2 separate regions of the Homo sapiens genome follow, and region 2 is linked to region 1. Evidence: promoter capture Hi-C in human tissues and cell types (Jung and others, 2019). All regions are on one chromosome and are shown on one strand. The core of a region is centred on a gene start or on the middle of the fragment in contact, and the rest is flanking DNA. Distances in the headings are between cores, read along the strand shown.

Region 1 (5,343 bases), core at 2,120-4,619:
GCTTTTGCTCTCAATAGAAGCTCTGACATTTTCATGTGAATTATAATTGGAATTAATGGTTATATATACCAGTTATTAATTCAAAAGAAATCGAGAATCAATTATGCTCAGGCTTACTATCTTTGCATTGGGGTGGCAGGTAAACTCCACACATGGTAGGTGGAAGGACACTGTCTCCAGGACTCCTGGAGAAATGAGACTAACTGAACTCTAGGCTCAAGAACATGGTCAAAAAGTTAAGGTAAGGGGATACGCAGAGAAAATAAGAGAAGAGTAAACGTGATCAGCATCTCTCTAACACTAGCAAGGGAGAGAGGCTGTGGGCTGGGAGACTATAAGCCCAAATACTTGCAAGCTGTCCCCTGCCATTGGTGGTGGGATAACCTCCACCCAGGTTACCTGACTTTCCTTGGTTTGAGCCCATGTTTACCCAGCAACTTCTGTGAGGCTCCTCTAAAGGAGGAGTTCTTGGAAGGATACCAAGCATTCCTATAGCTGGGAAGGGATGTCCTCTATTATATGCTAGAAAATTGGTGTCCTGGTTTATTTTTCAGATAGCAAGTCTGTCAAAGAGAAGACACCTCTGGCTATGCTAAGCACATCCAACAATGAATGAGGATGTGAGGTAGACCAGACCCTGGAATGGTTGTGACTCTCTAAGGTATTGTCTGAGGGAAGCCCTGCCAAGTACCCCAGATCATACTTCCATGAGCGCACCTCTTAAATAGGCTTATTATCCTATTTGTAAATAAGCTTACTGCGAGCTCAGGCAATTCACCTGAATTATATGGCTCTCAGTTTCATCATCATTTTTAAAAGGTAGATAAGCACATCTTTCCGGCCAGGTGCCATGGCTCATGCCTGTAATCCCAGCACTTTGGGAGCTTGAGGCGGGAGGATCACCTGAGGTCAGGAGATCGATACCAGCCTGGCCAATATGGTGAAACTCCATCTCTACTAAAAATACAAAAAAAAAAAAAAAGCCAATTAGTGGACGTGGTGGCAGGTGCCCGTAATCCCAGCTACTCGGGAGGCTGAGGCAGGAGAATCGCTTGAACCTGGGAGGCAGAGGTTGCAGTGAGCTGAGATCATGCCATTGCACTCCAACCTGGGCAACAAGAATGAAACTCCATCTCAAAAAAAAAAAAAAAAGAATATCTTTCCTCTTTCTTAGCTACTTGGCGGGTAGACAGGCATCTGACTGGCTCACAGTTTTCCTTTCTACCTCATGTCCCCACATTGTCTTTGTGAATTTCCAACAACCCTCATTTCAGTTCCCTGACTTCTTCCCCTCAAACAGCCTTCTCCTCAATGCCAACAGATACAGTTACAACACCTGTAACTGCTCCACTTCTGAAATTTTACACTCCAGTATCCTACTCTCTGATCACAATCTCTCCTTCCCATCCAGGGTGCTGCCTCCTTTATTCTTCCTTTATTCTGCTCTGACCTCACCGAGATCACCAGGCATCACCTCCTCCCCTTCTGTCTCACCTATCACCAGGAGGCTGGCTGCATTCCTTCTCTATCCATCTAGGCTCAGCCTCTTTCTGGCCAGACCTTCACACGCCTTGCCCTCCGGCCCCACCTCCACCTTTCTGGCATACCTCCCCTGCTAACTTACTCCTCTTTCAACTACCGTTCACCTTCAGCACTCACATTCCAGGATGGTAAAGATTGCTGCAGGAAAAAAAAAAAATCACAAATATGACCAGCAGTCTCCCTTGTCACAGCAGCTGGGTCTTCAGTCACAGCGCATCTGCGTGCCTGCTCAGGGGCCACTCCCTTAGTCCCCTTTCCTCTGCCTTAGAAGAAAACCTGGCCTCCTATTTCACAAAGAAAAGTGTCACCATACAAGTTTAGCCCATATCTAGAAACTTATCTTTACACACACCCTTACCTTCTTTCTTCCTGTCTCAGAAGCTGTGCCACCAATCCCCCACCCCCCCGTAGCCCTGTCTCCTCTACCAGCAATTGGCTTCCATTTGTTTCTTCCCTGGAACCTAAAAATATAATTTGTTACTTCCTCTCAACCCTAAAACATGGCTTTTCATTTCCTAAGTTAAAAAAACACGTTATTTCCTCTTTAAAACTAGGTTTCTTTAAAAAGAAAAAACGTCTGCCTACCCTATGACAGTCCAGATTCTGCTTTTACTAACACATAAGCCACCAGACCTCTGCATTCCACAGCCCTCTCTCCCTTTACCCTGTTTATTATCTTCACTCCACTTAGTACATGAAGCGATGCTATGTATCCGTTAAGTTGCTGTTTACCTTCCCCTCCAGAACCACCCTATTCCCTGTAGCAGTGCCAGGCACACAGCAAAGGAGAAACTGAGGCACAGGGACTATCCTGGTTGTGTTCCTTCTTACAGATCTTCTGCAAATAATGCTGCACTCGTAGCTAAACACAGCTCTACAACAGACGCCTTTTAGCCAACTGACTAAACGCTGGACATGTTGACTGAGCCCCCAGTTTTTGGAAATCCCTACTTCCTTGCTCGGAAACCTTGCTGTCTCTTATTTCCTCTTCTCTAGGCCTTGCTCGGAAACCTTGCTGTCTCTTATTTCCTCTTCTCTCGGCCACCGGCCATCGGTGTGGCTGGTCCCCGGGTCCCAGGCTCTGAGCTCTGCTCTTCATAGAAGAGGCTTTTTCGCCCCAATGCACTTGAATGACCTCTTTCAGCCCTGGGCGCTGAGCTTCAGGCCATGAGGACAAATACCTCCCGGATGACTCCCCGGAGTCCCCAGGTCCGCAGCCGAACTCATCATTTCCCCAAACCTGTTCCCCCTCCTCTCTACCTCGGCGGGTGGCAGCGCCGTCCACCCTGTCACGACGACAGAAACCCGAGCATCCTGGCTCTCCTCCCTCTCGCTCTCATCCTACCAATCCATCACCAATTCGCCGCCCTGCGGTGGCCTCCCCAGCCCTGGGTCCACCCTCCCGGCCCGCGCGTCGCCGGCATCCCTTGCGCCCTCCGAGGAACTGACCACGGCCGCCTTCTGGAGTGGGCGCACCCCCAGGGACCGGGACCGACCACGACCGCGGGGCCCCCCAGGCGCGGCTTCCTCCCGTCAGGCCCGGGCCCCCGGCTTGCCCCGCGCCCTCCCTCACCGCGGACCCCACCGCCCCCGCGCCCCGCCGAGGCCTCGCCGCCGCCACCGAGTCCCCCGCTGGCGCCCGGTCCGGGCCGCCGGCCTCCTCTTCTCACGCCCCGCGGGCGGAAGGACCGGAGCGTGGGTACCCGGGGCCCGCACCTTGATCCTCTCCACGCCAGCCTCCAACTTGAGCTGCTCTACCAAGCGCTGCAGGGCGCTCGCGCTAGCCCCGGAGGACATGGCGGCGGCGCTGGGCTCCTAGGGGCTGCTGGGCCCGGCCGGGCGGGGAGGAGCCGCCAGCCCCGAGCGCGGGTGCCGCCCCGGGGCGGGGAAGCAGCTGCGCCCGCCCCGCCGCCCCAGCCCACCCGGCGCGGAGCCGCTTGCCAGAGACAGCGGGGACCCCAGCGAGCTGGCAGTGCTCTCCGCTCCTCAGCGCCTGAAACCTGGGTGGCACCTGCAGCTGGGCCTGGAACCGAGGCGGGGACCCGCAGAGCGCGGCGTCCTCCAGCGAAGCTGGCGCCCCTAGGATGAGCAGGAATCGCGAGGGCGTGGGACGCGAGGATGGAGTGGGCGGCAGCAAACACGCACCCCTGAGAAATGAGAACTGGAGCCAAGGTGTGACATGAGTTGGAGAGATAAGGGGCCTTGCCAGACAGTATCACCGGGGAACCAAGGAGAGTTCATAGGATTTTCATGAGGCAGCAACAGGTTTCTAAATGACCCTGTTACTGTTTCACGGAGATCCTACCAGTTGATTTGGTGGAGTATGGTAAATTGGATAAAATCCCAGACCCTGACATCTTTGTGAAACATACAGAATAAAATTAAATTCAGCGTTTCTCACTCTCATCTCACCATTTAACTGTCATCATTGTTTCTATTCTGCTGCTTTTTTTTTTTTTTTTTTTTTTTTTGAGACAGGGTCTTGCTCTGTCACCCGGGGTGGAGTGCAGTGGCGTGATCACAGCTCCTTGTAGCCTCCACCTCGTGGGCTCAGGTGATCCTCCTGCCTCAGCCTCCTGAGTAGCTGGGACTACAGACACACACCACCACGCCCGGCTAATTTTTGTATTTTTAGTAGAGACGGGGTTTCACGATGTTGGCCAGGCTGGTGTTGAACTCCTGGGCTCAGGTGATCCTCCCACCTCAGCCTCCCAAAGTGCTGGCATTATAGGCCTACTGCATTTTTTAATAAGTGTTTTACAAAACTGGGATCGTTACTATATTTAAAATTTTTGTGTTGCTTTTTTCCATGTATCATTAATACGTCATTATTCTTGTACACCATTGTATTTGTCAGAACTCACTTAAACTGAATATTGCAAAAGGTAATATATTGGCTTGTGTAACTGAAAAGTCCAGGGACTTTAAACTAGTGAATTCAATTACCCAAATAATAATTTTGGGGCTCTCATCCTCCTTGTTTTGATTCTGCTTTTCCTGAGATTAGCCTCATTTTCCTTGGTGGTAGATGGACTTCTCTAGTGGTATGAAGGAAGGCACCACACTTTCACTGTCCCCATCTAGCAAACCCAGGAAAAATAGTACCTCTTTTCTTTCTAATCGTTCCAGCAAAAATCCCCATAATGAACCTCACTGGCTGGTATTAAGTCATGGGCCCACCCCTGGCCCAATTACTCTTTGAAGGCAAGGATGTGTGGCATTGACGTGCTCAGATTAGCTGTGCCTGGGCCAAAGGGAGACTTGCACATTTGAAAGCCCTCTCTAGTGGCCAATTTCCTCACCACAAAGAAATTAATATATATCTTAGTAAAGAGATGAAAGTACATGTTGGGAACATTCAACAATCAATTCTGAGACTGATGAATAGGACAAAATAGAATGATTTCATATTTAAAAGATATGGCAAAGAACTCAGTGCAAAGATATACATACTGGATTAGGAAAGGCTCATCATAGATCGTGAGAGCTGGACTTTGGAGATACGTGTCTTGCAGATGGCTCAGAAGGAAGAACAGTCCAGTATGGAGGACAGCTGGAGGCGATGCACACATGTAGAGTGAATAAATTTAAAAATAGAGGAAGCTCTAGTGACTAATAGCAGATACAAAGTTGCTAGGGCCAGAAGTCATAGAAAACCTCACATACACACAAAAGTTTATGGTAAACAGTGGGATAGCCACAGGGTAAGGCATTTTGGGAATATTAATCTGAGATGAATGTGCAAAATGAACTGAAGTTGAGAAGATAAATGGCTGATGGTGGGGGAGTAGCTGGAATGAG
Region 2 (5,343 bases), core at 1,892-4,391, 280 kb before region 1:
TACTTCATTTCTTTTTCTTTTTTCTTTTCTTTTTTTTTTTTTTGAGACAAGAGTCTCACTCTGTTGCCCAGGCTGGAGTGCAGTGGTGTGATCTCGGCTCACTGCAACCTCCACCTCCTCCTGGGTTCAAGCGATTCTCGTGCCTCAGCCTCCTGAGTAGCTGGGATCACAGGCGCGTGGCACTACATCCATCTAATTTTTGTGTTTTTAGTAGAGACAGGGTTTTACCATGTTGGCCAGGCTGGTCTCAAACTCCTGACCTCAAGTGATCTGCCCGCCTAGGCCTCCCAAAGTGTTGGGATTACATGCGTGAGCCACTGGGTCCGGCTGTTCCTTTGTTTTTTAGGGATAAATAATATCCCATTGTCTGTATATGATCAAGTTTTGTCTGTACATTCATCAGTTGATGGACATTTGGGTTGTTTCCACCTTTTGGCTATTATGAATAATGCTGCTATGAACATTCAAGTTTTTATGTGGACGTTTTGTTTCCAGTTCTCTTGAGTATCTACCTAGAAGGGCTTTTGTTCATTTCTTATGTTTCAGGTTTATAGTAAATATGTACTATTTTTATGATCCAAAACCAATGTGTAACTTAAAGAAAATAAAACACAACAAGAATCAATGGGCTTGTAGGATGTTGATAAGATAGACTTGACAGGGTCACCTCTTGATTCCTTCCAAAAACTGCTAGCTTCTCAAAGTTTAAGGAAAAAAACAGGCCGGGCGCAGGGGCTTAGGCCTGTAATCCCAGCACTTTGGGAGGCCGAGGAGGGCGGATCACAAGATCACGAGTTCGAGACCAGCCTGACCAACATGGTGATCCCCGTCTCTACTAAAAATACAAAAATTAGCCAAGCGTGGTGATGTGCACCTGTAATCCCAGCTACTCAGGAGGCTGAGGCAGGAGAATCGCTTGAACCCGGTAGGCGGAGGTTGCAGTGAGCCAAGATCACATCACTGCACTCCAGCCTGGGCGACAGAGGCAGGTTCTGTCTCAAAAAACAAAAAGCAAACAAAAACAACAACAAAAACCCAAAACCAGAACTAGAAGATTCTAGAAGGGGAAAATAAAATTTTAGTATTTTACTCATGTGTAGAGAAATCTTTTGTTTTAGTAGGGTGAGGGTGGGGGGGTTGGGAGCATGAAATAGCAAACACCTTACTAACACAATGAGAGGGTGGAAAGGTATTAAATGACATATGTGCCAGAATTAATGTTTTGATTCTGGCTTGACTGTCAACAATAGACCTTTCCCGAGTGACTATTACATGAATGCACTGGAGGGAAGGGTACAAAGAGAAAAAAGCACAAAAAAGGACTACTAAGATATGCAAAGTCCAGGCCCCTGAAAACTGGAAATGACCTGCAGACACGTAAGTGAAATGCCTGACAAAATGAAAGGGACAAAATGTGGGCACACACAACTCTGGAAAGGTCCTGAATTGAATGTGAGTTGAGGTTTAAAGGAGAGTATGTTGACCAGGTGCGGTGGTTCACGCCTGTAATCCCAGCACTTTGGGAGGCCGAGGCAAGCGAATCACTTGAGGACAGGAGTTTGAGACCAGCCTGGCTAACATGGTGAAACCCCTTAAAAATACAAAAATTAGCTGGATGTAGTGGTGCACGCCTGTAATCCCAGCTACTCAGGAGTCGGAGGCACAAGAATCGCTTGAACACAGGAGGTGGAGGCTGCAGTGAGCAGAGATTGCGCCACTGCACTCCAGGTGGGTGACAGAGTGACACTCTGTCTCAAAAAACAATAAAACAAAAAAACCAACAATAAAGAAGGAGAGTATCCCCATAGACAGGGAAAGTGAGGATGAAGGGAGAGAAACTTTCAGGGCAAGGAAACAGCATGGGAGCAAGGAAGCTCTGGTTCCACACGGAAAAGGGTCGGCTGGTGAGAGTGAGCCATTGGGTTGGGGGTGGAGAGCTCAGGCTGGAGAGATGGTGATGTGAAATGAGAATAGAAAATTAAGGACCACCTTTTCCTGGGCTTGGAGTAAGGCTGAGGAACATGGGGTCAGAGGAAGAAGCTGAAGTCAGAAGTCAAGCTCCAAGTCAATGTAGAGACAAAGCAGGAAGTAAAACAAGCAATATAACCAAAAATAAGCGAATCAGAACAAAATGAAAAAGGGCAGACTGTGGGCAGGGCTAGGGTGCCCACAGCTGCTTCCGGGATGCCGATTATGCTGTTGGGAGACAGTCTAGGATAAAGTCAGGAGACTGGAAGATGGGGATGGACAATTCCCCTTCATCGTCTCTTAATGACCCAACTTCTTAGGACATTTCTCACAAATTCAAGTCAGGCTTAGTTTTTTGGCTTAGTATTACTGGGACCTTGGGTGGAAATGCATCGTTGTTGCAGTTTCCAAATATCTGTGCCCATCGCTTTCATGTCTTTTTCACACGCAGCCAAACCTAAAGCATCTGACTTCTGCTTCTTCCACTCTGATGAACTGGCTTCCTGGGAGCTGCCTTTCTTAAACTGTTTCCTTGGCATCAGAGTCATATGGGTGCTCTCAGGGTCAGGAGCAATTTCTGTCTTTGAAAGTCCCACCCCTTTGTCTCTCACTGTAGAAAATATATCACTGTGTAAAACAAGAAAAATCGTTCATAAAGAAGCTGTATTACTCCCACGCAGACACTTCATCTATCAACGTCTGAGACAATTCACTATGGCGGAGACCCACGCTGGCAACTCTACAGGGAGTTTCCTGCCCCAGAGTTCACCAGCCTCTTCTCATCCTTTACGGTCAACGGCCCCTCCCGTGACCACTTCCTTCTTGAAATCTCTCTTTCCAAGGCTACTGTGGCACTCCTTTTACTATTTCTTTCTTCTTTGGGAGGAAAAAGGCACTAACTGTCCCTATGCTCATGTACATGACCTCATCGAATCATCTCTACCACCTCAGGTGCTTTAGTATCTCCATTCTACATGGTTAAGAAAGCTTGGCTCAGAAAGATGAAGGAAGCTTCCTAAAGTCCCATAGCTACCAAAAAGCCCATTTGGACCCCAGGTTTGGCAGCCTCTTTTCCTAGATGTTTTTCTTCCATTGTCTCTCTAAATGGCACTTTGACTTTAGTTATAGTCACTGTCTCAGCCATCACCTCTAGGGAAATTACTCCCAAGTCACCACTTCTAACCCATTCCTTTCCCCTGCTCCAGAGCTGCACAATAAATAGTCTGCTGGATTTCTCCAGCATGTTCCTTAGGCTGGCCTGGTGTCCGTCAGTCATGAGGGGAAATGATAGAGGTTTCACATCTGGTGACAAGGGTTGGGAAACAAAGGTGGCATGACCGCAATGGGGTGTGCAGGCAGCAGAGGAGGGGTGCAGATACTCTCAGTCCTGTAGAAGAATAAATGATATCCCTAAATTGCTTAAATTAGATAATTACAAGTCCATGCTATTAGCATGGATGTCTTAATGATGATTAGTCTAAACAGCACAACCACATGAAACCATTCCAGACACCCACAGTCTCTGCCAATTTCTCTCGGAACTGAGGAGGGGCCATGTGAAAGGCTTAGCACATTTTGGTTCTTAGGAAACTAGCTGCTTAGGGATCTCTTAAAGATATGTATTTTTGTTTTTAGAAAATACTAGGATAGTGATTTTAAACTTTTTTCTAGGTATCAATATTTTTAAAGCAAATTACCCAACTAAACACATATCCTTGCAGCTCTGCAGAGACAGGTACTCACCATTTTGCGGTTTGCTTTCTTTTCACCGAAATGAACTTGATATGGTCGTAAACTATAACTTGAAATGAATAAATAAATAACTCAAGCACTAGATCCTGATAAACTTCAGAAGGAAAGGTCTGAACTATTTCCATTCTCATGAACACAGTCTTGTGGTATGCATCAATCTTATCAATCATGTATGTAAAGCATTTCACTTTAAATGAGCTTTATAGTAATTTACATTCTTGTTCTACAGGTTTGAATCTGGTTCTCTAGAACAATTTTTGAGTTAGGATACAGATGGTTATTAAAACTGTGATATTTTTCCCCCTTAAGGTCTAGGTAAATTTTCAAGCCAGTGTAAGCATAAATTTAAATGTGGTCCAGCGGAGAAATATACCACACTGGGACCAGATAGAGGGGCTACTCCCAGCTCTGCCACCAGCACCATGCCTACCTAACCCTATGATCACAGCTCTCACCGTGGGTGTCTCAGCTTCTTCATTCTAAAATAAGGGTGAGGGATCCTCAAGATCCACCTAGCTATGAAATTCTAAGACATACTCAACTTTGTGTTGATCATTTCTTAAACTGTAGGGTTAGAAGTACACAAATGAGAAGGAATGTTTGTTTACTGGGCCAGATCCCTTTTAGACTGTGTCTTACGGCTCCGATAACAGAATACCATAGACTGGGTGGGTTATAAACAACAAAACTTTCTCAGTTTTGGAGGCTGGAATGTTTAAGATCAAGGCCCTGGCAGATTTAGTGGCTAGTAAAAGCTGACTTTCTGGTTCATAGCTGGTCACCTTTTTGCCGTATCCTCACATGGCGGAAGAGGCAAGAAAGCTCTCTGGGGTTTCCTTTATAAGCATCAATCCCATCCTGACGGCTCTGATCACCTACCAAAGGCCTCACCTTGAAAGACCCTCCTCACATTGGGCATTAGGTTTCAACACAGGAACTACGGAGAGACAAAAATATCAGCTGAGAGCGGATTCTTTCTACCCCGGATTTGTTCTCCAGTTAAGAACATTCTTTTCTCATGGGATGGTGGTAAAACAGGCCTGTAAAGGCTTCCAGCTTGGGAGGGACCTGGCCTTGGAAAGTATGTAAGGTGCATCTCCCATCTGGGTCTCAAGTAATAATGCCACTCCATTCCTTCCTTTGGATTTACATTTTCTAGCCATTAGAGTGGTAAGATCTAAAAGGCTGAGTTCAAGCTGTGAGCCCGGGGGGAGAGGGGCCCAAAGGACCACTGGCTCTTTTCTAAAGGTCATTACGAGCCAGTCATTCTCACAGTAGAATCACGGGTAGAAGAGCTCAGGCCTCACCCAAAATAATTACACCAAAATCTATGTGGGCAGGGCCCAGGGTGTGTGTGTGTGTTGTGTACAGGGCCCAGGGTGTGTGTGTGTGTTGTGTACAGGGCCCAGGGTGTGTGTTGTGTATTTTTTTTTTTTTTTACAAGTTCTCCAGGTGATTTTAACAGGCAACCAATGTAGAAAAGCCATACTTAAGTCACAGGACTGCCTATGTCCTTATTTATTTTACCTATGGCTCAGGTAAAAGGAAGATTTCAAAAGGAATACTTGACAGAACTCTTCTAATAATTCTGATGTGAATGGTGGAACATGCTACTTATAAAAA

Evidence for each region. Contacts are between HindIII fragments. The study calls those that stand out against the background at their distance.
Region 2: a contact is called between a fragment that was not itself captured here and the fragment with the promoter of GNG10 in region 1, in 1 of the 25 tissues and cell types used here (aorta).

What each region holds. Positions count from the first base shown.
Region 1 is chr9:111,659,631-111,664,973 of GRCh38, reverse strand. It overlaps GNG10 (G protein subunit gamma 10), which reads right to left and starts at 3,369. Exons shown (of 3, transcript NM_001017998.4): 1 at 3,259-3,369. The coding sequence starts at 3,339. All of the region lies in intron 1 of DNAJC25-GNG10 (DNAJC25-GNG10 readthrough), which reads right to left. RefSeq lists enhancers at 2,309-2,358, 2,559-2,658, 3,729-3,788 and silencers at 2,949-3,068, 3,099-3,548. The HindIII fragment of the contact is 18,619 bases long and covers 1-5,343 here.
Region 2 is chr9:111,935,403-111,940,745 of GRCh38, reverse strand. No RefSeq gene overlaps it. Among named protein-coding and RNA genes, the nearest start is that of MIR4668, 6.0 kb to the right of the region's middle. RefSeq lists an enhancer at 2,552-2,861. The HindIII fragment of the contact is 5,345 bases long and covers 469-5,343 here.